5 separate regions of the Homo sapiens genome follow, and regions 2, 3, 4 and 5 are each linked to region 1. The links are contacts of gene promoters, found by promoter capture Hi-C in blood cells and fetal thymus (Javierre and others, 2016). All regions are on one chromosome and are shown on one strand. The core of a region is centred on a gene start or on the middle of the fragment in contact, and the rest is flanking DNA. Distances in the headings are between cores, read along the strand shown. Region 1 holds the start of ZNF235 (zinc finger protein 235). Region 2 overlaps ZNF850 (zinc finger protein 850). Region 3 overlaps LOC728485 (a long non-coding RNA gene). Region 4 overlaps ZNF175 (zinc finger protein 175). Region 5 holds the start of ZNF585B (zinc finger protein 585B).

Region 1 (4,548 bases), core at 868-3,367:
TCTAGTTTATTCAACCATAAGACACTTAATTTCATTTATGTCAGGATCAGGATCAAAGTATGTAATGAAATATTTGAAGCCGAACACAAATTAGAAAACAATTCAAGATTTTACACATGCCCATATTACAACGTTGTCTTAGATTCCCGGCCAATGGAGCTGCTTTTGTTTGCCATAACAGTACACATTTAAAATAAATGAAGTTCAAGATATTTCTCTGGCTTAATATTTATATTGCCTTTTTGTGGGTTCTTAGTATATTAGAACGAATAGCACATTAAACAAAACACTGTCATGAGCCCTTAGGTACCTTGAGGAATAATGGAGGGAAAAGAGTCAAACACTTTACTCCCTTCTCTCCTTGTCACCGACCCCTAAATATACACAACTTGGACACTAAGGACTAAAACTCCATCCTCTTTCCCTGCCCCTCACTGATACGGAAGAGGGGAATGGAAGTGCTGGAGGGGAGAAGGGTGTGGTCCCTGACTAGGGCTCTACCCCCAGGCCTGTGGCCACGGACCTAGGTGAGGACAGGCATTCCTGCCTTTGTGCCCAAATATTGCATTTCCCAAGACCACCCTGGCCCACCACGCCCCCATCCTGTGCCTATAAAAACCCTGATACCCTAGCAGGCAGAGACACAAGCTGCTGGACGTTGAGAGGAGAGCATTGGCGGACACACAAACAGCTGGCTGTCGAGAGGCTGTCGAGGGGAGCGGGTCGGCAAAAGAGCACACTGAAGAGACCGGCAGGCCAGCAGGCCATTAACCGGTGGAATAACGCAGTTTGGCCTGGGTAGTCGGAGGAGCGCCCAGGCCGCTGAGAGGCTGACTCCAGGCGAAAACCATCTCCCTTCTGGCTCCCCCTTCTGCTGAGAGCTACTTACAAATCGTTCTCCAAGGTTTCTCCAATCCTTGCACTCTTTCTCCAAGCCTATGTGTGATGCGATTCTTCTGGTACACCAAGGCAAGAACCTCTGGGATACAGAAAGCCCTCTCTTGCTTGCGATAAGTCAGGGGTCTAATTGAGCTAACACAAGCCTCCTACAGATGGCTGAACTAAAAAAGCACCCTATAACACACGCCCACTGGGGCTTCAGGAGCTGTAAACATTCACCCCTAGACACTGCCGTGGGGTTGGAGCCCTACAACCTGCCCGTGTGCATGCTCCCCTAGAGGTTTGAGCGGCTGGGCACGAAGAAGCGAGCCACACCCCATCACATGCCCTGGGAGAGGGAGAAGTGAACTTTTCCCGTTTCATCACAATTTACTTTCGGCACTAACATGATTGTTCAGCTGTCTTCATCAGCAGGCCTTTATTCCAGGAGATTCCTGCCCAAGCAAACTGTTTAATTGTTCATTATGGGAACTTCCACAGAGACCCATCAAATTTTCAATCTCTTCCAAAGAAAGTGTCAATAGATTGCAATTTAAGATTCTTTGCTTCAAAAATCCTTGCTATATCCACCAATCCTGGACTGTAGTATCATGATCATTATGCAATACTAATAAAATCCCTTGCATTGAAAGACCCGCCTTAAACATCCAGTTCTCAATCAGTTCCAACCTTGCCTTGACACTTTGCTCTGTGAAGGTGCCAACGCTCCGTCGAAGTGTTGTTCTCCATTACTGCAATCAACAATAAATTCTGTTTTTTGTCTTATCAACAGGTTGAGTTGATGATATTTGGGGAGCCGGCATTTGACACAAGTTTGAGATCTGGTGTTCCTTAACGTTCAGCGTCCATCGGAGCTCAGCCTAAGTCACTTTTACGCTTCCCATTTTAGCCTACCCTCTGCTTCTGCGAAAAATTTTGGTTTCTAACTTATTTTAATAATACAAGCTGCACTTTTCATTTTTATATGTCATCACTTTAAAAATTTTACAATTATTTTCTCATGAGCTTTTAAAAATGAATAAAACAAAAACGAATCTCACAGTAGTAGCACCAGAGAAGTGGCTCAAACCCAACCGGCTTGAGTCAAAACAAAGCCCAGCTGGTGGGAAGCGCTGCCCTTGGAGCATTCTGGGAACTGTAGTCCAGGAGTGAGAGAACTCTGAGACGCTTCCGCTTAGGAATTCTGGGAAGTGGAGTCCACGAACCGTGGGCACTCGGAGGCACTTCCGCTCCAGGAAGGCGAGGTCGGATCTGAGATATCTCCCAGGGAGGTGAGTCAGCTCCGGGTCTCCAAGACTTCTCCGAGCCCTCTTTGCCTAGGCGTGGGGCCAGCAATGAACCCGTCCTTGGCTTGGGGAAGAGAAGCCGCGGCCAGCGCTGGAGGGCGGGGTTGGGAGGCTGCGGGAGTTTGCGTCCCCTCGGCAGAACCTCTTGCGTGGGAGGCGGGCTCGCGTCGTCCTTCGAGGTTGAGGGTCTGCTGCCCTAGCCGTCCTCACGCACCTACCAGCCAGTCCTGCCTGCTCCTCGCAGTAAAATATTGGGCAAGTTACTTAATCTCTCCTTGTCTCAGTTTCCTCGTGCCTGTAAAGGGTTAGTGCGTTCCCAGTGATGTTCTTGTGAGAATTAAATGAGGTTTTATAGAAATAAGCTTAAAACCAGTGCATAGGAAAATGTTGGATGCCACCGTTAATTCTGTTATAATACTGAAAAAGACGCCTGTTGTTTGGAAACTCCTCTGAGTCTAGGAGATCCAGCTACGGAGCCGCTGTCCCTTCTCTAATCCTTGCCTGATGTGGGGCCGTTCCTGGATTCTTGGACTTTTCTAGCCTCTTGTTTAGGAGACAGGAATTAGTTCCAGCGGAGCCTGGGGAATGTCCTGTGTGTTTTATCTCAGATAAGCGATCGTCATTACGGATTTGCAGAGTGCCAGAGGTGTCCTGAGGCCCTAATAAATGTTCAGTATAATGTGGTTATAACCAATAATCCCGTGTGGTTAACTTAAGTGTAACACCATTTCTTAGAGAGTTTTAGGTTTTTATTAGTCATTGCTTTCATGCATGTGGAAAAAGAGACTTTCTTGAGGCTCCTCCAGCTTAGTAACATTTGCAAGTAATTACATCTGTTGGAGGAAAAAAAAACCTGTGGCAGTTTAACTATCATTACCAACGGAACTAATTATGTTAGACAACCAATCACAGTTACAGACTTTTCTGAGGGTAATGGTAACTCACAGGACAGAGCAATTATTTTTGAGTTCTGGGTTTCTTAAAAGATTCATTTTCTAGAAAGCATACTCAAAAGGGCAGTTTTATGAAGCATAATAGCACTTGCTTGTCAGAAGCTGCAGGAAATAGAGAATACAGGCATTATTATTGTCCCCATTCACAGGTAACTGAATTAAGGCACAGAGAGATTAATAATTCGCTTAAGGTTTATACTGCTGATCAGTTGAAAATAGGTAGAAATGCCAAAATTTGAAGCCAGGCATTTTGGCTCTGTTACATTCCCCTGCCTGTCTGTGTCTCATTTCCTTGGAAACTAAAGTTCAGAAGGAGTACACAGAGAGCTGTATTTGATTTAGGTCTGTTAATATGAAATGTTCATGAACAAAAGCAGCTGGTTGAGGGGGCCGAGGGGTAGCTGGGAGCTAGCTCCCGTTCTCCTCACTAAGCCGTGTGCAACTGTGTCTGCCTAGAGACAGGGGGACCTTTCTCTGAAGTGTCACATAAAAGTGCCATGGTGACTAATGCCATCCCTAACCTATCTCATGATGCCTTTCCCTCCCTCAGGTTCACTTCCCCGGAACTCTGCCTTTTCCCAGAAGGAGGAGGGGAAAAATGACCAAGTTCCAGGTAAGTTTGGTTTGCCTTTGTGTTTCTTAAAATGACATCTCATTTCACAAAGATTGGACACATTTTTCCTGTTTGGGAACAGTAAAAGGGAACGAAAGGCACTTGGAATGTTGTTATATGCCAGGTTGTTGCCTTTTATTTCAATATAATAGTATAAAAATTAACAGAGAGATATATATATATCTGTTAATTTCTAAAATATATTTCTATATAATTATATATTTATATATACGTATATATTTTATATTTATATACAAATATATATGTATATATTTATAAGAAATATACGTATATTTGTATATATGTATTATATATACAAATATATACGTATATTTTATATAAATGTATACAATATATACGTATATTTTATATAAATATATACGTATATATGTATATATTTATATATAAATATATACATATATACGTATATATTTATATATACAAATATGTATATATAAATACATACAAATATATACGTATATATTTATATACAAATATGTATATATAAACACATACAAATATATATAAGTATATATTTACTCATATATAAGTATATAGTTATATATATATAAGTATATATATACTCATATATAAGTATATAGTTTTATATATATATATATATGTAAATATAAATCTCTATATATATTTAGAGACAGAGTCTCACCCTGTTTCCCAGGCTGGAGTGCAGTGGCTCACTGCAGCCTGGGCCTGGGCTCAAGAGATCCTCCCACCTTAGCCTCTTGAGCAGGTGGGACCACGGGCACACACCAGCACAACCAGCTAATTATTTTTAGTA
Region 2 (4,548 bases), core at 636-3,135, 7.6 Mb after region 1:
GGCACAATTTCGGCTCACTGCAAACTCTGTCTCCTGGATTTAAGCAATTCTTCTGCCTCAGCCCCCTGAGTAGCTGAGAATTCAGGCGTGCACCACCATGCCTGGCTTATTTTGTATTTTTAGTAAAGTCGGGGTTTTGTCATGTTGACCAGGCTGGTCTTGAATTCCTGACCTCAGGTGATCCACCTGCCTCAGACTCCCAAAGTGCTGAGATTACAGGCGTGTGCCACCGCACCTGGCCCCGTAGAACTTTTAAAATTTACCATCCATGGCACTCATGGCACCTCAGATTTTTTTTAGAAAACCTCATCACTTCTGAATAAATTTTAGCTGTTCCATCTTGAATATAGTTTGCTCCCTGTTCTTTCAGTATTACTTTCAGGAAGACAAATGAATTCTTTGACTTTTCTTTATGACTTTTAACCTTGCTTTTGCATTTCCAGTTATTTAACCATTCCAGTGAGGTTTTGTTGTTGATTTCTTTCTCTTTTTCTCCTTGAAATTTATATGTTGAAGAAACTGGATCATCTGTCATTTAACATTTAGCTCTCCTCCCTTTACTCCTTTCTTTCCTATAAACAGACTATGTGATATTAGTATTGTGTATTTCATCAAGAAGCACATATCTGGTTGTTTCTGTTTTTGTGAAGTTAGCAGCCATTCCTCATCTCATCCCCTAAAAATTACTAGGTAATTTTAAAATTGTCCTTATGAACACACAGATTTAAAAAAATTTGATGTGATTTATTGTAATTACATTACAATGATTACAGTTTTTATTCTTGAATTCATGCTCAACTTGTCCCATCTTTGGCCAATGGGACCCTCTTCACAATGGTTCCTGAGTCTTTTTGACATGACCCTAGGAGTCTTGAATAAGCTTCTTTGCTTTTCTAATATGCCAGCTTTTTCCATGCTCATAATGCACACTTTCTGTTCTAATCCCAAGATGCTCCAAGGAGCCTAGGTTCTGTGTAGTAAGAAATGGTATTTAGAGACAGTAATCTGTCATTAGCGTGTTCATTGCTGCCAGATTGGTTGTTTCTAAGGCTTCAATGGATGAAGATGTATAGTATTTTTTAAAAATCATGATTGCACTCTTATACTGCCAATTCAAATTCATTCATTGAATTTTAAGTTTCAATGATTCATTTTTTAATTTTTAGATACTGATACCCCATTTGTGTCTTTTACAAAAATTTGCTTGGCCTTTTTGCTAGTGAGATGTTACTTTCTCACTTTAAAAAAGTAAACTTTAGGTTTTAGGATAGTTTTAGACTTACAGAAAAGTTGTGAGGTTAGTACAGAGACTTCCCATATACATCACATGTAGTTTCCCATTAACATTTTATATTTGTACATTTGTCATAATTAATGAATGAATGTTGATCCTATTAAATAATAACATTGTTGAAGCAATGTTGTTATTATTATTTACCTTTCCTATGGTGCTGAGATCTATTATTATTAATGGAAACCCCTACTTTACTCAGATTTCCTTAGCTTTTTTTTTTTTTTTTTTTTTTTTTTGAGATGGAGTCTGGTTTTTGTTGCCTAGGCTGGAGTGCAATGGTACGATCTTGGCTCACTGCAACCTCAGCCTCCCGGGCTCAAGTGATTCTCCTGTCTCAGCCTCCCGAGTAGCTGAGATTACAGGCATGGGCCACACGTCTGGCTCATTTTTGTATTTTTAATAGAGACAGGGTTTCACCATGTTGGCCAGGCTGGTCTTGAACTCCTGACCTTGTGGTCCGCCCGCTTCAGCCTCCCAAAGTGCTGGGATTATAGGTGTGAGCCACTGTGCCTGGCCTCCTTAGCTTTTACCTAATGTCCTTTTTTCCTATTCTAGGATCTTGGCTAGGCTAACACATTGCATTGAGTCATTATGTTTCCCTTGGCTCCTCTTTGCTTTGACAGCTTTTCAGGCTTTCCTTGTTTGTGATTATCTCAATAGTTTTGGAGAGTACTGGCCAGGTATTTCATAGATTGTCTCTCATTTTGGGATTTGTCTGGTGTTTTTCCAGTGATTAGACTGGAGTTCAGTATTTTTAGAAGGAAGATCACAGAGATAAAATACTGTTCTCATCACATCATATAAGGGTACATACTATCACCATGTATACCATGTATGTACACCATCTTTTTTTTTTTTTTTTTTTTTTTAAGACAGGGTCTTGCTCTGTGGCCCAGGCTGGAGTGTAGTGGCACAATCACAGCTCACTGCAGCCTTGAACTCCTGGGCTCAAGCAATCCTCCTGTCTCAGACTCCCAAAGCGCTGGGATTACAGGCATGAGCCACCACGCCCAACACATCTTTAATTCTTAAGGACATTATTTTCAGTTTGTCTCCCCTTTCTACCATAGATGTTTTTATTTCTACTCAACAAGGAAATGCTATGTTTTTGCTTTCTGGTTATTTTTCAGACTCGGAGTTTAGATGTAAGACCAAAGATTCATGTTTGCCAAAAGAAATCTATGAAGTAACATCATCTCAGTGGGTGAGAATGGAAAAATGTCATAGCCTTGTGGGCTCCAGTGTCAGAGATGACTGGGAATGCAAAGGCCAGTTTCAGCACCAAGATATAAATCAGGAGCGATATTTGGAAAAAGCAATAATGACTTATGAAACAACACCAACTTTCTGCCTACAGACATCTCTCACTCTGCATCATCGGATTCATCCTGGAGAGAAACTGTATAAATCCACAGAATGTATGGCTTTTAAGTATGGCTCAGAACTTACACAACAGCAAGAAACCCATACTGGTGAAAAACTCTATAAATGTAAGGAGTGTGGGAAGGCCTTTCATCACTTTTCCTATCTTGTTAAACATCAGAGAATTCATACTGGGGAAAAGCCCTGTGCATGTAAAGAATATGGAAAAGCTTTTATTTCTGGCTCACATCTTATTCAACACCAGAAAATGTATACAGATGAGAGACCTCATGAGTGTCAGGAATCCGTGAAGGCCTTTAGACCGTCTGCACATCTTATTCAACATTGGAGAATTCATACTGGTGACAAACCTTATGAATGTAAAGAATGTGGGAAATCTTTTACTTCTGGCTCAACACTAAATCAACATCAGCAAATTCACACTGGTGAGAAACCCTATCATTGTAAGCAATGTGGAAAATCTTTTACTGTTGGCTCAACACTAATTCGACACCAGCAAATTCACACTGGTGAGAAACCGTATGATTGTAAGGAATGTGGAAAATCTTTTGCTTCAGGCTCAGCACTAATTCGACATCAGCGAATTCACACTGGTGAGAAACCCTATGACTGTAAGGAATGTGGAAAATCTTTTACTTTTCACTCAGCTCTAATTCGACATCAGCGAATTCACACTGGTGAGAAACCCTATGATTGTAAGGAATGTGGGAAATCTTTTACTTTTCGCTCAGGGTTAATTGGACACCAGGCAATTCACACTGGTGAGAAACCCTATGATTGTAAAGAATGTGGAAAATCTTTTACTGCTGGCTCAACACTAATTCAACATCAGCGAATTCACACTGGTGAGAAACCCTATGATTGTAAGGAGTGTGGGAAATCTTTTGCTTCGGGCTCAGCACTACTTCAACATCAGCGGATTCACACTGGTGAGAAACCCTATTGTTGTAAGGAATGTGGAAAATCTTTTACTTTTCGCTCAACACGCAATCGACACCAGCGAATCCACACTGGTGAGAAACCCTATAATTGTAAAGAATGTGGAAAATCTTTTGCTTCTGGCTCAGCACTACTTCAACATCAGCGAATTCACACTGGTGAGAAACCCTATCATTGTAAGGAATGTGGAAAATCTTTTACTTTTCGCTCAGGGCTAATTGGACATCAGGCAGTTCACACTGGTGAGAAACCCTATGATTGTAAAGAATGTGGAAAATCTTTTACTTCTCGCTCAGCACTAATTCAACATCAGCGAATTCACACTGGTGAGAAACCCTATCACTGTAAGGAATGTGGAAAATCTTTTACTGTTGGCTCAACACTACTTCAACATCAGCAAATTCACACTGGTGAGAAACCTTATGATTGTAAGGAATGTGGGAAGGCCTTTAGACTTCGTTTACGACTTACTCAACATCAACAAATCCATACTGGTGAGAAACCTTATCAATGTCAGGAATGTGGGAAAGCCTTTGTCAGTGTCTCAGGACTCACCCAACATCACAGAATTCACACTGGTGAGAAACCCTATGAATGTCCGGACTGTGGGAAGGCCTTTAGACAGCGTACATACCTTAATCAACATCGGAGAATTCATACTGGTGAGAAACCTTATGAATGTAAAGAATGTGGGAAATCTTTTACTTTCTGCTCAGGACTAATTCAACATCAGCAAAATCACACTGATGAGAAACCCTATGATGGTAAGGAATGTGGGAAATCTTTTACTTCTCACTCAACACTAATTCAACATCAGCAAATTCACACTGGTGAGAAACCCTATGATTGTAAGGAATGTGGGAAATCTTTTACTTCTCACTCAACACTAATTCAACATCAGCAAATACACACTGGTGAGAAGCTCTATGATT
Region 3 (4,548 bases), core at 601-3,100, 7.5 Mb after region 1:
TTTCTGGAATGCTCCAAGTGCTCTCTGATTTTTCAGCATCTTTAGTGTAACTGTGCCTCTGCTTGGAATACCCTTCCACACTGCTGACTCCTCACCACCAAAGCTCAAGGGTTATCTCTCAGTCACCTGTCCTATCAATGCTACGGGAAGTATCCCTCAAGTTACTGCTTATACCACCTATTGATTTATTTCATAGTATTGATCACGATATAAAATTACCTCATTTTCTCCTTTTACTTTAAAATCTTTTTTTTCTCCCAGACTAGAATGTAAACCTCACGTAGGCAGCAGACATGTCTGCTTACTTTTTTTTGTGAGACGGAGTTTTGCTCTGTCACCCAGGCTGGAGTGCAATGGTGCGATCTCAGCTCACTGCAACCTCCGTCTCCCAGGTTCAAGTGGTTCTCCTGCCCCAGCCTCCCGAGCAGCTGAGATTACAGGCGCCCACCACCACACCCGGCTAATTTTTGTATTTTTAGTAGAGATAGGGTTTCACTATGCTGGACAGGATGGTCTCGAACTCCTGACCTCAGGTGATCTGCCTGCATGTCTGCTTACTTTTGATAAGTATCTTTACTGATTGATTGACCGAGGCAGAGTCTTGCTCTGTTGCATAGGATGGAGCGAAGTGGTGCAATCATAGCTCACTGCAGCCTTCAACTCCTGGCCCCAAGAGATCCTCGCAACTCACCTTTCCCAGTAGCCGAGACTACAGGTACATACCACAAGGCCTGGCTAATTTAAAAAGTGTTTTTTGTAGAGATGGGGTCTTGCTTTGTTACCCAGGCTGGTCTTGAACTCTTGGAGTCAAGCAATCCTCATGCCTTTCTAAAGCTTTTACTATTTGAATTAAAATGAACAAATCAGGAAATGAGCAAAGTCTGTCTCTGAAAAACTGAATTCTCTCCCCAAAGACACTGCATGTAACATTATTTAATAATAAGATAGTGGCCAGGCGCGGTGGCTCAGACCTGTAATCCCAGCACGTTGGGAAGCCGAGGCGGATAGATCACAAGGTCAGGAGTTCAACACCAGCCTGGCCAAGATTGTGAAACCCCATCTCTACTAAAAATACAAAAATTAGCTGGGCGCGGTGGCAAGCACCTGTAACCCCAGCTACTTGGGAGGCTGAGTCAGGAGAATCGCTTGAACCGGGCGGGGGCGGAGGTTGCAGTGAGCTGAGATTATACCATCGCACTCCAGCCTGGGTGACAGAGTGAGACTCTGTCTCAAAAAATAATAATAATAAAAATAAAGATGATGATAGTTGGGCTGGGCACAGTGGCTCACACCTGTAATCCCAGCACTTTGGGAGGCTGATGCAGTCAGATTGCTTGAGCCTAGGAGTTCGACACCAGCCTGGAGACGGTCAAACCCCGTCTCTATAAAAAATAAAAAAATTAGCTGGGTGTGGTGGCACATACCTGTGGTCCTAGCTACTTGAGAGGCTGAGGTGGGAGGATCACCTGAGCCCAGGAGGTTGAGGCTGCAGTGAGCTAGGAGTGCAGCACTGCACTCCAGCCTGGGCGATAGAGCAAAAGGCCATCTCAAATAACAATAATAATAATTGGATAGTAACAAATGTTTGACTCCAACAAGTATGCTGCAAAACAATGCTATAAATAATGAGAAAATAGACAATGCGTGGTTCGGCTTGGTGGCTCACGCCTGTAATCCCAGCACTTTGGGAGGCTGAGGTGGGCGGATTACGAGGTCAAGAGATCGAGACGATCCTGGCCAACATGGTGAAACTCCGTCTCTATTAAAAATACAAAAATTAGCCAGGTGTGGTGGCAGGTGTCTGTAATCCCAGCTACTCAGGAGGCTAAGGCAGGAGAATTGCTTGAACCAGGGAGTCGGAGGTTGCAGTGAGCCGAAATCGCGCCGCAGTACTCCAGTCTGGCGACAGAACGAGACTCCATCTCAAAAAATAAAAATAAATAAAAATAAAAGGGATGAAAGATGACAAAACTACCAGAAGAAATCAGAAATTATAACATCCAACTAAAAGGATGTTTAGAATTTCAGAAAGAGAGAAGAAAAATGAATGGAAGAAAACTTCACAGAACAAACAAAAGGCGATTTCTAGAAACACAGATCATGAGTCTTCAAAATATTAATACAAAGATCCACTGAGTACCTTGTACAACGAAAGAAACAAGAACCACACCAAAACACATTTCTGTGAAATTTCAGAAAACTAGTACGAAGAGACAATTTTAAATGTTTTTTAAAATTATTATTATTATTATTATTGAGACAGGGTCTCACTCCATTGCCCAGGCTGGAGTCCAGTGTCGCGATCTTGGCTCAACTGCAACCATGCCCTCTTGGGTTCAAGCAATTCTCCTGCCTCAGCCTCCTGAGTACCTGGGACTACAGGTGCATGCCACCTCACCCAACTAATATTTTGTGTTTTTAGTAGAGACAGCGTTTCACCATGTTGGCCAGGCTGGTCTCAAACTCTTGACTTCAGGTGATCTGCCCACCTCGACCTCCCAAAGTGCTGGGATTACAGGTGTGAGCCACCACACCCGGCCTATTTTTACTTTTATGAAAACAGGGTCTCCTTATGTCATCCAGGCTGGTTTTGAACTCCTGAGCTCAGGCAATCCTCCTGCCTCGTACTCCCAAAACTCTGGGATTACAGGCATGAATCACTGAGCCTGGCCTTTAAATGCTTTGAAAGACAAAGAACAGTAACAGAACACAAATCAAATTGTCATATTTTAAGATAAACACTGTAAGCTAGCAGACAATGTTATATAATTCAAAATTCTAAGTGAAAACCACATTCAACCTAAAATTTCAAACCTAGTTAAGGTGTCATCCAAAAGAGGTAGAATACAGACACTGTCAAGCTTATAAGGGTCCCAAAGTTTTAACCCAAATTCGCCTTTGTCAAAATGGTAAACAAAATAAGAACGTGTTTTTTACAAAAATGAGAAGCTAAACCAAGAAAAAAAAAAAAAAGACATACGCTCCAAGAAACCAGGGACCCAATATAAGAGGCACAGGAAATGCCCGAGATGTTCAGGTGCTGGGTATTTATTTATTTATTTAATTTTTTCTGAGACGGGGTCTTGCTTTGTCACCCAGGCTGGAGGGCAGTGGTGCCATCACGGCTCACTGCAGCCTCGACCTCCCAGGCTCAAGCCATCCTCCCAACTCAGTTCTTTTGCCAGTTGGCATCCTTTTACTTATTCATTGATGAATCCCACATATTCATTTATTCACTCTACAGTGGTGAAATCTCTTAGAATTATTTTCACTAAGTAATAAAAGTTAACATCACCAAGAATGGAACACATTGACACTGTGTGTCTCTCGATGGGATAAACCACATGAGTTATGTGGTATTCCTCCCAAAGATACATAAAAGATGAGGTACATCCAAATTAAAGAACACTCTACAAAATAACTGTCCCGGCGCGGTGGCTCATGCCTGTAATCCTAGCACTTTGGGCAGCAGAAGTGGGAGGATCTCTTGAGCCCAAGAGTTTGAGACCACACTGGGCAACATAGAACACCCCATCTCTACAAAAAATAAAAAATTACCCGGGCGTGGTGGCGCAGGCCTGTAGTCCCAGCTACTCGGGAGGCTGAAGCAGGAGGGTCCCTTGAGCCCAGGAGTTCGAGGCTGCAGTGAGCTATCATCGCGCCACTGTATTCCAGCCTGGGCGATACAGCAAAGCCCTGTCTCCAAAAATAAAACCAAAAACCAAAAAACAAAACCCCAAAAAAACTCACCACCACCAAAAAACAAAATAAGTAACCTGTATTCTTTGAAAATGTCAAGGTCGGGAACAGGTAGGATACACAGAAAACAAATAGGTGGAAGATTTAAATCGAAATATTTTAGTAGTTTCATTAAATGTACAGAGGAGAGTATGTGCCTATCATTGGGAGTCTGAGACAAGATAAAAGCACGGATCTCATAACAATAAATTACTTTGAAATCTTCTTTCTTGCTCAGTACAGGTCCCGCCGCCGCGCCGCCTGGCTCTCGTATTCCTGGTTCTCGGCGGGCTGTGGGGCTTCCGCGCCGCAGCCGTTAGTCTCGTCGGGTAGGTGACTCCTTCAGCGAGCAGGCGCAGCGACGAGAAAGGCCTGGCGGGGTTGCGCTGTCTTCCCGCCCACCGGAAGGCCCTGAGGAGAAGCCTCGGGCCCTGAGGGAGGGCTTGGGGTCGGGGGCGGCCGCTGCCGCCGCCATGTTGGGCTGGAGGTACGCACGCTCCCAACGCTCTCTGGCTGCGCTCCCAACGGTATCTGGCTGCAAATCACGGCGGGAGCGCCTCGGGCCTCTTGTCTTTTGACCCTGTCCTTGGAACCCGAGGAGACTTGCCGTTCCCGGGGGAGGGTGTGTGTGAGTCGGGCGGCGGAGGCCGTCTACGCCATTGTAGGGGCGGGGGGAGCCGAGATTAGAGCATCAGCCTGAGAGAAGTGGTGCTTCTGGTTCTCCGCTCTGCCTCGCATCTTTCAGCGAGGCCTCGTACCTCAGTTTTCCCATCCGTGAAGTGGAGCTGGGCCTGCCTGACTCATTCATTC
Region 4 (4,548 bases), core at 1,084-3,583, 7.3 Mb before region 1:
AACTGAAATGCTGTATCCATTAAACAATTTCCCTTTTCCCCCATCCCTCATTCTCTGGCAGCCACAATCTTATTCTGTCTCTATGAATTGACTACTTAAAGTACCTCATACAGGTAGAATGATACATTTGGATTTTTTGTGTCTGGCTTATTCACTTAGCATCATGATAAGATTCATCCGCACTGCAACATGTTTCATAATTCCTCTTCCTTTTTAAGGCTGAATAATATTTCATTGTATGTATAGACCACATTTTGTTTACCAATTCATTGGTCAATGGACAATTCCACTTTTTGGATATTGTGAATAGTGCTGCTATGAACAAGAGTGTACAAACAGCTGTTTGGGTCCTTGCTTTCAATTCTTGTGGGTATCTACCCAGAAGTGGAGTTGCTGGATCATATGGTAATTTTATGTTTAATTTTTGAGAAATCATCATCCTGTTTTCCATAGGACTACACCATTTTACATTCCCACTAGTAATACACAAGGATTCCAGTTTCTCTATATCCTTGCCAACACTTGTTATTCTGTTTTTTTAATTGTAGCCATTCTAATGGATGTAAAGGGATATCACCCAGTGGTTTTGATTTGCATTTCCCACATAATTAGTGAAGTTGAGCATTTTTTCCTATTATTGGCCACTTGTATATCATCTTTGAAGACATGTCTATTCACATCCTTTTCCCACTTATTAAAATAGGTTGTTTTCTATTTCATTTTTCACTCTTAAATAGCAATTTTACCCATATACAGGTGGTCATTTATTCTGGCAATCTTCCACTGTGTCCCCAGGCAGCGATCTGAAACATTTTTAACTTCTCACTTTATTCAGGTCATAAAAATCTTGCTGAACCTGGTAACACTTAAATTACTGCCCAAAATGTTCAATGTAAACTATCAGAACTGTACTGAAAAGCTTTTCCACAACTCTCCAACACAGCCTAACAATGTCGATTGCAAAAAAGAAGTCCAATTTATTCTCAAATCCAAGCACACTCTCATGTCCTCTATTCCCATTAAGCTTGCTTCATCTGCTTCTTTGTTTCAATTCAAAATGGCTTCTTGAACCAGTTATAGGTACTATGCCCTTAAAATTAATTCCCAATGTCACTCCACCTCTAGGCTGACATCATTTTTCTGAACTTCACCAGCATTTGCTATCCATGCTTCCCATGTTGATACACTTACTTTTTGAGTAGCCTTCCATGAAATAGACATGATTGATGCACAAAGGCTAATACTTTTAACATTTAATGCCATTGTCCTCTCCATCCAAATACAATCTCCGTTCTTTTGAATTTATCTCAGCAAATATTTAAAGCATCCTTTTAAAATACTGTGAAATATTCTTTTCTGCCCATTTTCAGAAAATCAGTAATTTCTGTATCCTAAATACAAAAATCCTAATCCTATATCTTAAATACAATGGTTTCCTCATGCTAAACATTGATATAATGAAGATTAAGAAAGTACAAAGTAATCAGCAGAGTGTATGCAAAGTGAATCATTCTATGGAGTAGACATTAAACAACATACAAAAACAATGGAGCAGAGCATGAGTGATGAAAACTATTCAGGTATATTTTTAAATTGGAAATATGTGGCCATGAGGACAATATCACTGAAAAGAATTTGTTAATCCTACACAGTAGGAAATAGAACTGCCTGTTTTTATCATATCTACTGAGGAAAAAAGAAACAAAATAGCCATGTTTGGGGTCATAAAATCTGTCAGTATCTTGACTAAACTCAAAAACCTGAAATCAACATATCTCACTGGGAACAAAATTGTCTAAATATGAGAAAATGGGGATCTAGTTTGTTGTAATACCACTGGGATTAAGAAAAAGGGTCACTTTTTTCTTAATTAAAACAAGAAAAACTGGTAAGAATTCCAAAGTAATAAATTAAATTAGAGGACTGTGTTTCTGAGCCCAGAAACAGAAAAATCTCACAAAATTTATCAGGTGAGAATTCCTTATTTGGATGATGATGATTCCAATTTCTGATCTCCCAAAATTAAGGAAGTGAGTCATCTCATGGGAACTGTCCTCCGTGGAGCTAAGTAAGGTAGCAGAACACAGTTTAAGCACAGGGACTAGAGGTACTGATATATAAATCATTAGAATAAAAATATGAGGACTAAGAGTTCAGAATGGATGGGTCCTTTAAGTCAATTCCTGTGGGAAAAGATGCCCATAGCCGGGCACGGTGGCTCACGCCTGTAATCTCAGCACTTTGGGAGGCCAAGCCAGGCGGAACACCTGAGGTCGGGAGTTCGAGACCAGCCTGACCAACAAGGAGAAACCCCGTCTCTACTAGAAATACAAAATTAGCCGGGCATGGTGGTGCATGCCTGTAATCACAGCTACTTGGGAGGCTGAGGCAGGAGAATCACTCAAACCTGGGAGGCGGAGGTTGCGGTGAGCCAAGATCGTGCCATTGCACTCCAGCCTGGGCAACAAGAGTGAAACTCTGCCTCAAAAAAAAGAAAAGATGCCCATATGGAAGAACAGGGCCCCAAGCTAGAGGTGCCACAACTGGGAGGAAAAGAAGACAGCAGATCCAGCAAAGAAAAGAAAATAAATAAAATTAGGGGCAAAAAAACTGGAAAAAAAAGGCAGAAAACTCCATGGACGTAAAGAGATAAGCGGTAAGAAAATGCAACAAACAAATGAAAAAGCCAATCAGATAACAGATAAGATGAGAGGCTCTCACCATTCAGTTATTAGAAAAATAACACTTAAGCAATGAAACAGGCTGGGTGCGGTGGCTCACGCCTATAATTCCAGCACTTTGGGAGGCCGAGGTGGGCAGATCACAAGGTCAGGAGATCGAGACCATCCTGGCTAACAGGGTGAAACCCTGTCTCTACTAAAAATACAAAAAATTAGCCGAGTGTGGTGGCGGGTGCCTGTAGTCCCAGCTACTCGGGAGGCTGAGGCAGGAGAATCACTTGAACCCAGGAGGCAGAGGTTGCAGTAAGCCAAGATCGTGCCACTGCACCCTAGCCTAGGTGACAGAGTGAGACTCTGTCTCAAAAAAACCAAAACCAAAAACAAAAAAAAATGAAACAGCCCTTTCACCTATCAGTAGGGCTATAAATTCACCAATTTTGTTAATGCCAAGTGTTAGCAAGCAAGATGTGCAAATGCAAATCCTTGTGCACTGCACATGGGGAGTGTGAACTGGTGCAGCCCATCAGAAGAGCAATATGGTTGATTTAGTCAAGTATACTTATCTCCAGGACCAGGCAATCCCATTCCTGAGTATTCACCAATGGAAAATTCTTAAGGCAGCCCCTATAGGACATTTAACATTTATAGCACATTTACAGTGTTTGATGGGAAACTGGGAGTAGGAGGCAATCTACGGGCCATCACTGGGGGAATGGAGGGAATAGAAAAGTATGGTAGACTGGTAATGGTTCCCTGCAAAGATATCTACATTTGCCCGGGTACAACTTACTCACCTTGACACCTCTGATGTGAGACTTCAGCCTCCTCCACACGCGGCTCCTTTTCTTTTAGCATTCTGAAGATGACCTCTGGGTTGGGAATGTGATACCCTGTTAATTAGAAAGGATACTGGATTTGGGTGTAGCTTCTTCAGTTTTAGAGGCCATTCAATGAAGCTTTACACTGGCTCATTAGAAAAGTCAACATTTTCCACTGGGCACAAAATAATACTAGAAGGTGCCCAAAAGAAACAAACAATCCAGGACAAACCGATAAAAGAGTCATGACATACTTTGATATCCCACTGCGTTCTGCAATGAGGAGGAAGGAAATCTCCTCAACAGGATCCAGCCAAGATTCCCAGGTCAGTTGTGCTCACCCACTGCGAAGAGATGGCTATAGAGCTCCAGCATCACATCCCGGTACAGGCATCTCTGGGCAGGGTCCAGTTGCTGCCACTCCTCCCTGCTGAAGTCCACGGTCACGTCCTCAAATGACACTGATGCCTGTAACAGTGTACCCCAGCTCACTGTGAATTAGGTCATCATTGGCGAGTGGGGATGGCACATATAGGAGGAACATGCTTTTAATGATTTTCACCACGATCCATCACAGAGGCTTCCCACCAAACACCTATTTCACATTTTTAGGGATTTAAAAAAAAATAAGAGAAATATCCTCCATCCACTGTACACCTACATTCATTCATTCATTTTTTTTTTTCAAAAATGAGGCCAGAAATGGGTTCCCTCTAAGTCCTTTAGCTAATTTAGGAATAACCAGCATGATGTTGACGAAGCAACTACATGTGAGGCTGTAGTTGAGCTGGGTTCTGGTGCTCAACACAGAATTACATAAGCTTCTACTCTTGCAGCAACTCAGAGACTTGGAAGACATGTAAATACAAAAGCTCAACTACAGGGTTAAAAAGGGAACATGGTAGAAATATATGCAGAGGACACTGTTGGGGAAGGGCAAATTAGGGAAAGGCAAATTCTACCTAGGAGTAGAAGGTAATGCTACTTAGAGTTGGTGAAGCTTACGCTGGAAGTAAGAACTGTGATGCAGGATGTGTGAAGGAAATCAT
Region 5 (4,548 bases), core at 526-3,025, 7.1 Mb after region 1:
TTTTTTTTTTAAGTAGAGACAGGGTTTCATCATGTTGGCTAGGCTGGTCTTGAACTCCTGACCTCAAGTGATCTGCCTGCCTTGGCCTCCCGAAGTACTGGGATTACAGGTGTGAGCCACTGCACCCAGCATTTTTTTTTTTTTTTTTTTTTTTTAGAGACAAGGTCTTGCTCTGTCTCCCAGGCTGGAATGCAGAGGTATGATCACAGCTCACTGCAGCCTCATACTCCTGGACTTAAGCATCCTTCCGCCTAGGCCTTCTGAGTAGCTGGGACTATTGGTGTACACCACCACACCTGGCTAATTGAAAAAAAAATTTATAGAGAGAGGGTTTAGTTATGTTGCCCAGTCTAGTTTCAAACTCCGGGCCTCAAGTAATCCTCCCACCGAGGCCTCCCAAAGTGCTGGGATTACAGGCATGAGCCACCACAACAGCTGTGTCATCCCAACCCCTCTCTGGGCTTGATCACATAAAGAAGGCTTGCATTCCTCAGATAAAAGCCATTTATTTTCTTTTTCAACACTATGCGGAGTGAGATAAGCCAGACCAAAAGGACAAATATTGTATGAATCCACTTATATGAGGTGCCTAGAATAGGTGTATTCATAGAGACAGAAAGTAGAATTGAAGTTACATGAAGTTATATGAGGTACATGATAAAGCCTCTATACTTAAAACAGTGTGCTATTTGTGTGTGGTTAGAGAGACAGACAAAGGGAGGAGGATGGGAAATGGAGAAATAAACATCCATGGCCGGGCGCGGTGGCTCACGCCCAGCCCTTTGGGTGGCCGAGGTGGGTGGATCACCTGAGGTCAGGAGTTCGAGACCAGCCTGGCCAACATGATGAAACCCCATCTCTACTAAAAATACAAAAAATAAGCTGGGCATGGTGGCATGCGCCTGTCATCCCAGCTACTCAGGAGGCTGAGGCAGGAGAATTGCTTGAACCTGGGAGGCGGAGGTTGCAGTGAGCCGAGATTAAGCCACTGCACTCCAGCCTGGGCAACAGGAGCAAAACTCCGTCTCAAAAAAAGAAAGAAAGAAAGAAATTAACATCCCGGCCAGGCACGGTGGCTCACACCTGTAATCCCAGCACTTTGGGAGGCCAAGGCGGGTGAATCATGAGGTGAAGAGATCGAGACCATCCTGGCCAACATGATGAAACCCCGTCTCTACTAAAAATACAAAAATTAGCTGGGTGTGGTGGCACGCGCCTGTAGTCCCAGCTACTCGGGAGGCTGAGGCAGGAGAATCGCTTGAACCTGGGAGGCAGAGGTTGCAGTGAGCTGAGATTGTGCCACTGCGCTACAGCCTGGTGACAGAGTGAGACTTCATCTCAAAAAAAAAAGAAATTAACATCCACATAGATGCTTAGTATTTGATAAAGGTAGCAGCTCAAATCACCACAGTCACATCATAAAGTTTTATGCAGCCCATACACACACAGCAGAAAAAAAAAAAAACGAAGCTCTCTACGGAATGACATTAACTCTGGAATATATAAAAAATGGAAAGTATAGAACAGTGTAACATATAGTTCGTCTAAAAAAGAAAAGGAAATTAGATTAGATATAAGCATTTGTTTATATTCACTAAAAAAAGAAAAGATAGGAAAAAAGAAGTATTGGAAACGTGAACCAGAAACAATACCTATAGTGATAACCTATAGTGATTGGGGTGGTGGGGGGAGTGAGACTTGATATGTCTTTTTATACAGTTGCATAGGAAAAACAAACTGGTTTTAAAAATATATACTCTCACAACACTCAATACTTCCAGAATGTTTCGTTTTTAACACAAAATATGTGGAGTTTTTCTGACACCACTTCTCCAGCCCTCCCTACATGGGTGTCCTACAATTGAATTCAATTCTGACACTAACCTGAGTTAGCACAGACCTTACAGTTTAATTGCTCAGTCCCACAAGACTGCCCACCTCTTCAGATGCCAATGACAACTACTAGGTCACCTGATTACCAACAACTGCCCAGTTTGCCTGAAAATTAGAGGTTCTCATCATCCCCTTCTTGGATTTGATTCTACCAAACTTTTAAGGGAGAACAAATTCTAATATTTCTCAAACTAATCCAAAAAAATTGAAGGGGAAGGAATTTTTCCAAACTGATTCTGTGAGGCCAGCACCATCCTCATACTAAAACCAGGCAAAGACAGAAGAAAGAGAAAACTACAGGCCAAGATCCCTGATAAACGCAGATGCAAAAATCCTCAACAAAATACTAGCAAACCAAATCCAATAGCATGTCAAAAAGATACACAATGATCAAGTGGGACTTATCCCAGGGAAGCAAAGATGGTTTAACATATGCAGATTAGTATGTGCAATACATCACATTGACAGAATGAAGGACAAAAATCATATGGTCATCTCAATAGAAACAGAAAAAGCATTTGACAAAATTCAACATCTCTTTGCAATCAAAAAAAAAAAAAAACAAAACTCCCTGGCCGGGCTCGGAGGCTCACGCCTGTAATCCCAGTTCTTTGGAGTCTCACTCTGTCACCAGGCTGGAGTGCAGTGGCTCCATCTCAGCTCCCTGCAACCTCCACCTCCTGGGTTCAAGTGATTCTACTGCCTCAGCCTCCCAAGTAGCTGGTACTACAGGCGCACGCCACCACACCCAGCTAATTTTTGTATTTTTAGTAGAGGCAGGGTTTCACCATGTTGGCTAGGATGGTCTCGATCTCTTGACCTCATGATCCACCTGCCTCGGCCTCCCAATGCGTTGGGATTACAGGCATGAGCCACTGCGCCCAGCTGGGATTGCTTTTGAGCCTGGGCAGTCAAGGTTGCAGTGAGCCATGATTGTGCCATTACACTCCAGCCTGGGTGACAGAGTGAGACTCTGTCTCAAAAAAAAAAAAAAAAAAAAAGCAAGATTTTCTTCAGGTGTTTTTAGTCACACGTTGGCCATATTAAAGACTGTTATTATTATTATTGTGCTGTTGTTGTTGTTGTTGTTGTTTTGAGATGGAGTTTTGCTCTTGTTGCCCAGGCTAGAGTGCAATGGCATGATCTCGGCTCACTGCAACCTCCGCCTTCTGGGTTCAAGCGATTCTCCTGCCTCAGCCCCCCAAGTAGCTGGGATTATAGGCACACACCACCATGCCCAGCTAATTTTGTATTTTTAGTAGAGACGGGGTTTCACCATGTTGGTCAGGCTGGTCTCGAACTCCCCACCTAAGGTGATGTGCCCGCCTCGGCCTCCCAAAGTGCTGGGATTACAGGCATGAACCACCACGACCAGCCAAGACTATTATTATTTTTATTGTTGCTGCTTACTATAGTTGTGCTTGAGTTAGCTAGGGTGGATGCTGATGGAGATTAAGGGGATTAAAATATCTATACCTCCCAAAGCCTTCTACCAGCCGTTTCAAAGGGGATGCTTAGACTTCTAACCCCTCTTCCATGGTATCTCCTAGAAGAGGATTGTACTAACCCAACTTCTACCCTATTTCCTAATGTGTTTTCAACTACTAAAAATTGTACCTCCCTTCCTGCAGGATACTACCTACTGTGACATAACTCCGTCTTGCCTAGTGGTTTCACCCAGGAGTGAACTCAGATCCCAGTCCACCCTTCTCCTGAGTGGTGTCTCCAAAAAATAGATTGTACCATCCTGATGCCTCCTCTTATCTCCCTTATTTCTCTCAGGATCCCTGGCTTCCTAGTTCCCCCATGGTTTCTCCTAGTAAATCGTTGTTTTCTGCAGTGTGCCGTAACCAAGGGGTAACTTAGGTATTGTAAATATAACAGCCGGAGGCGGTGGCTCACGCCTATAACCCCAGCATTTTGGGAGGCCGTGGTGGGTGGATCATTTGAGGTCAGGAGTTCGAGACCAGCGTGACCAGTAGAGACGTGAAACTGCGTCTCTACTAAAAATACAAAAAAATTAGCTGGGTGTGGTGGCGCTTGCCTGTAATCCCAGCTACTCGGGAGGCAGAGGCAGGAGAATCGCTTGAACCTGGGAGGCAGAGGTTGCAGTGAGCCGAGATGGCGCCACTGCACTCCAGCCTGGGCGACAGAACAAGACTCTGTCTCAAAACAAACAAACAAACAAAAAAAAACATAAAGCTCCAGATCCTATCTTCAGGAACTTCTTCTTGGGTACAAGCGTGGTCACACTGGTTACAGTCTTGCATTCTATGTGAAAATCCTTGCCTTACTCTAGTCAACACTCCAGGAGGCGGACTCCTCCACTGTACGGAATCGATACGCATCAAAGATGGCGACCCACACAAATAAACACCATAAGGGCGCGGTTATATTCTCTGCCCGTGAGCGCCGATTACGGAAACTGCACGATGTCTCTAAATATGTGTGTGCTCCCTGTTGACTGTGGGCTGAAATTGGCTTCCAAGTTAATTTAGAGCATGCGCAATATCAACAGTCCATAAGGGGAGGTGCTAGAAGTCGGACCGGAAGTGGAAGTGGTCCCCGAAGGCTATTTCGCCGCTGGCGTCAGGACTATTTTCACGTTTTAATGCCGAGAGGTCTCTGTGACGATTTTGGTTGGTTGCAATTAGG

The links. Contacts are between HindIII fragments. The CHiCAGO score rates a contact against its expected background, and 5 or more counts as called.
Region 2: a fragment that was not itself captured here is called in contact with the fragment with the promoter of ZNF235 in region 1 in 1 of 17 cell types (naive B cells); the score reaches 6.2 in naive B cells.
Region 3: a fragment that was not itself captured here is called in contact with the fragment with the promoter of ZNF235 in region 1 in 1 of 17 cell types (non-activated CD4 T cells); the score reaches 6.9 in non-activated CD4 T cells.
Region 4: a fragment that was not itself captured here is called in contact with the fragment with the promoter of ZNF235 in region 1 in 1 of 17 cell types (activated CD4 T cells); the score reaches 5.4 in activated CD4 T cells.
Region 5: a contact is called between a fragment that was not itself captured here and the fragment with the promoter of ZNF235 in region 1, in 1 of 17 cell types (total CD4 T cells). The highest score is 5.7, in total CD4 T cells.

The regions. Positions count from the first base shown.
Region 1 is chr19:44,302,594-44,307,141 of GRCh38, reverse strand. It overlaps ZNF235 (zinc finger protein 235), which reads left to right and starts at 2,117. Exons shown (of 5, transcript NM_004234.4): 1 at 2,117-2,171; 2 at 3,690-3,752. The coding sequence starts at 3,738. RefSeq lists enhancers at 203-702, 703-1,204, 1,781-2,334. The HindIII fragment of the contact is 5,796 bases long and covers 1-2,550 here.
Region 2 is chr19:36,748,681-36,753,228 of GRCh38, reverse strand. ZNF850 (zinc finger protein 850) reads left to right here. Exons shown (of 5, transcript NM_001193552.2): 5 at 2,425-4,548. Among named protein-coding and RNA genes, the nearest start is that of ZNF850, 22 kb to the left of the region's middle. The HindIII fragment of the contact is 2,006 bases long and covers 883-2,888 here.
Region 3 is chr19:36,775,563-36,780,110 of GRCh38, reverse strand. It overlaps LOC728485 (a long non-coding RNA gene), which reads right to left. Exons shown (of 2, transcript NR_164117.1): 2 at 3,033-4,548. Among named protein-coding and RNA genes, the nearest start is that of ZNF850, 5.0 kb to the right of the region's middle. The HindIII fragment of the contact is 2,027 bases long and covers 837-2,863 here.
Region 4 is chr19:51,580,810-51,585,357 of GRCh38, reverse strand. It overlaps ZNF175 (zinc finger protein 175), which reads right to left. Exons shown (of 5, transcript NM_007147.4): 3 at 3,841-3,967; 4 at 3,476-3,571. Among named protein-coding and RNA genes, the nearest start is that of LINC01530, 11 kb to the left of the region's middle. The HindIII fragment of the contact is 2,613 bases long and covers 1,027-3,639 here.
Region 5 is chr19:37,210,425-37,214,972 of GRCh38, reverse strand. It overlaps ZNF585B (zinc finger protein 585B), which reads left to right and starts at 4,437. Exons shown (of 5, transcript NM_152279.4): 1 at 4,437-4,532. The HindIII fragment of the contact is 8,273 bases long and covers 1-4,548 here.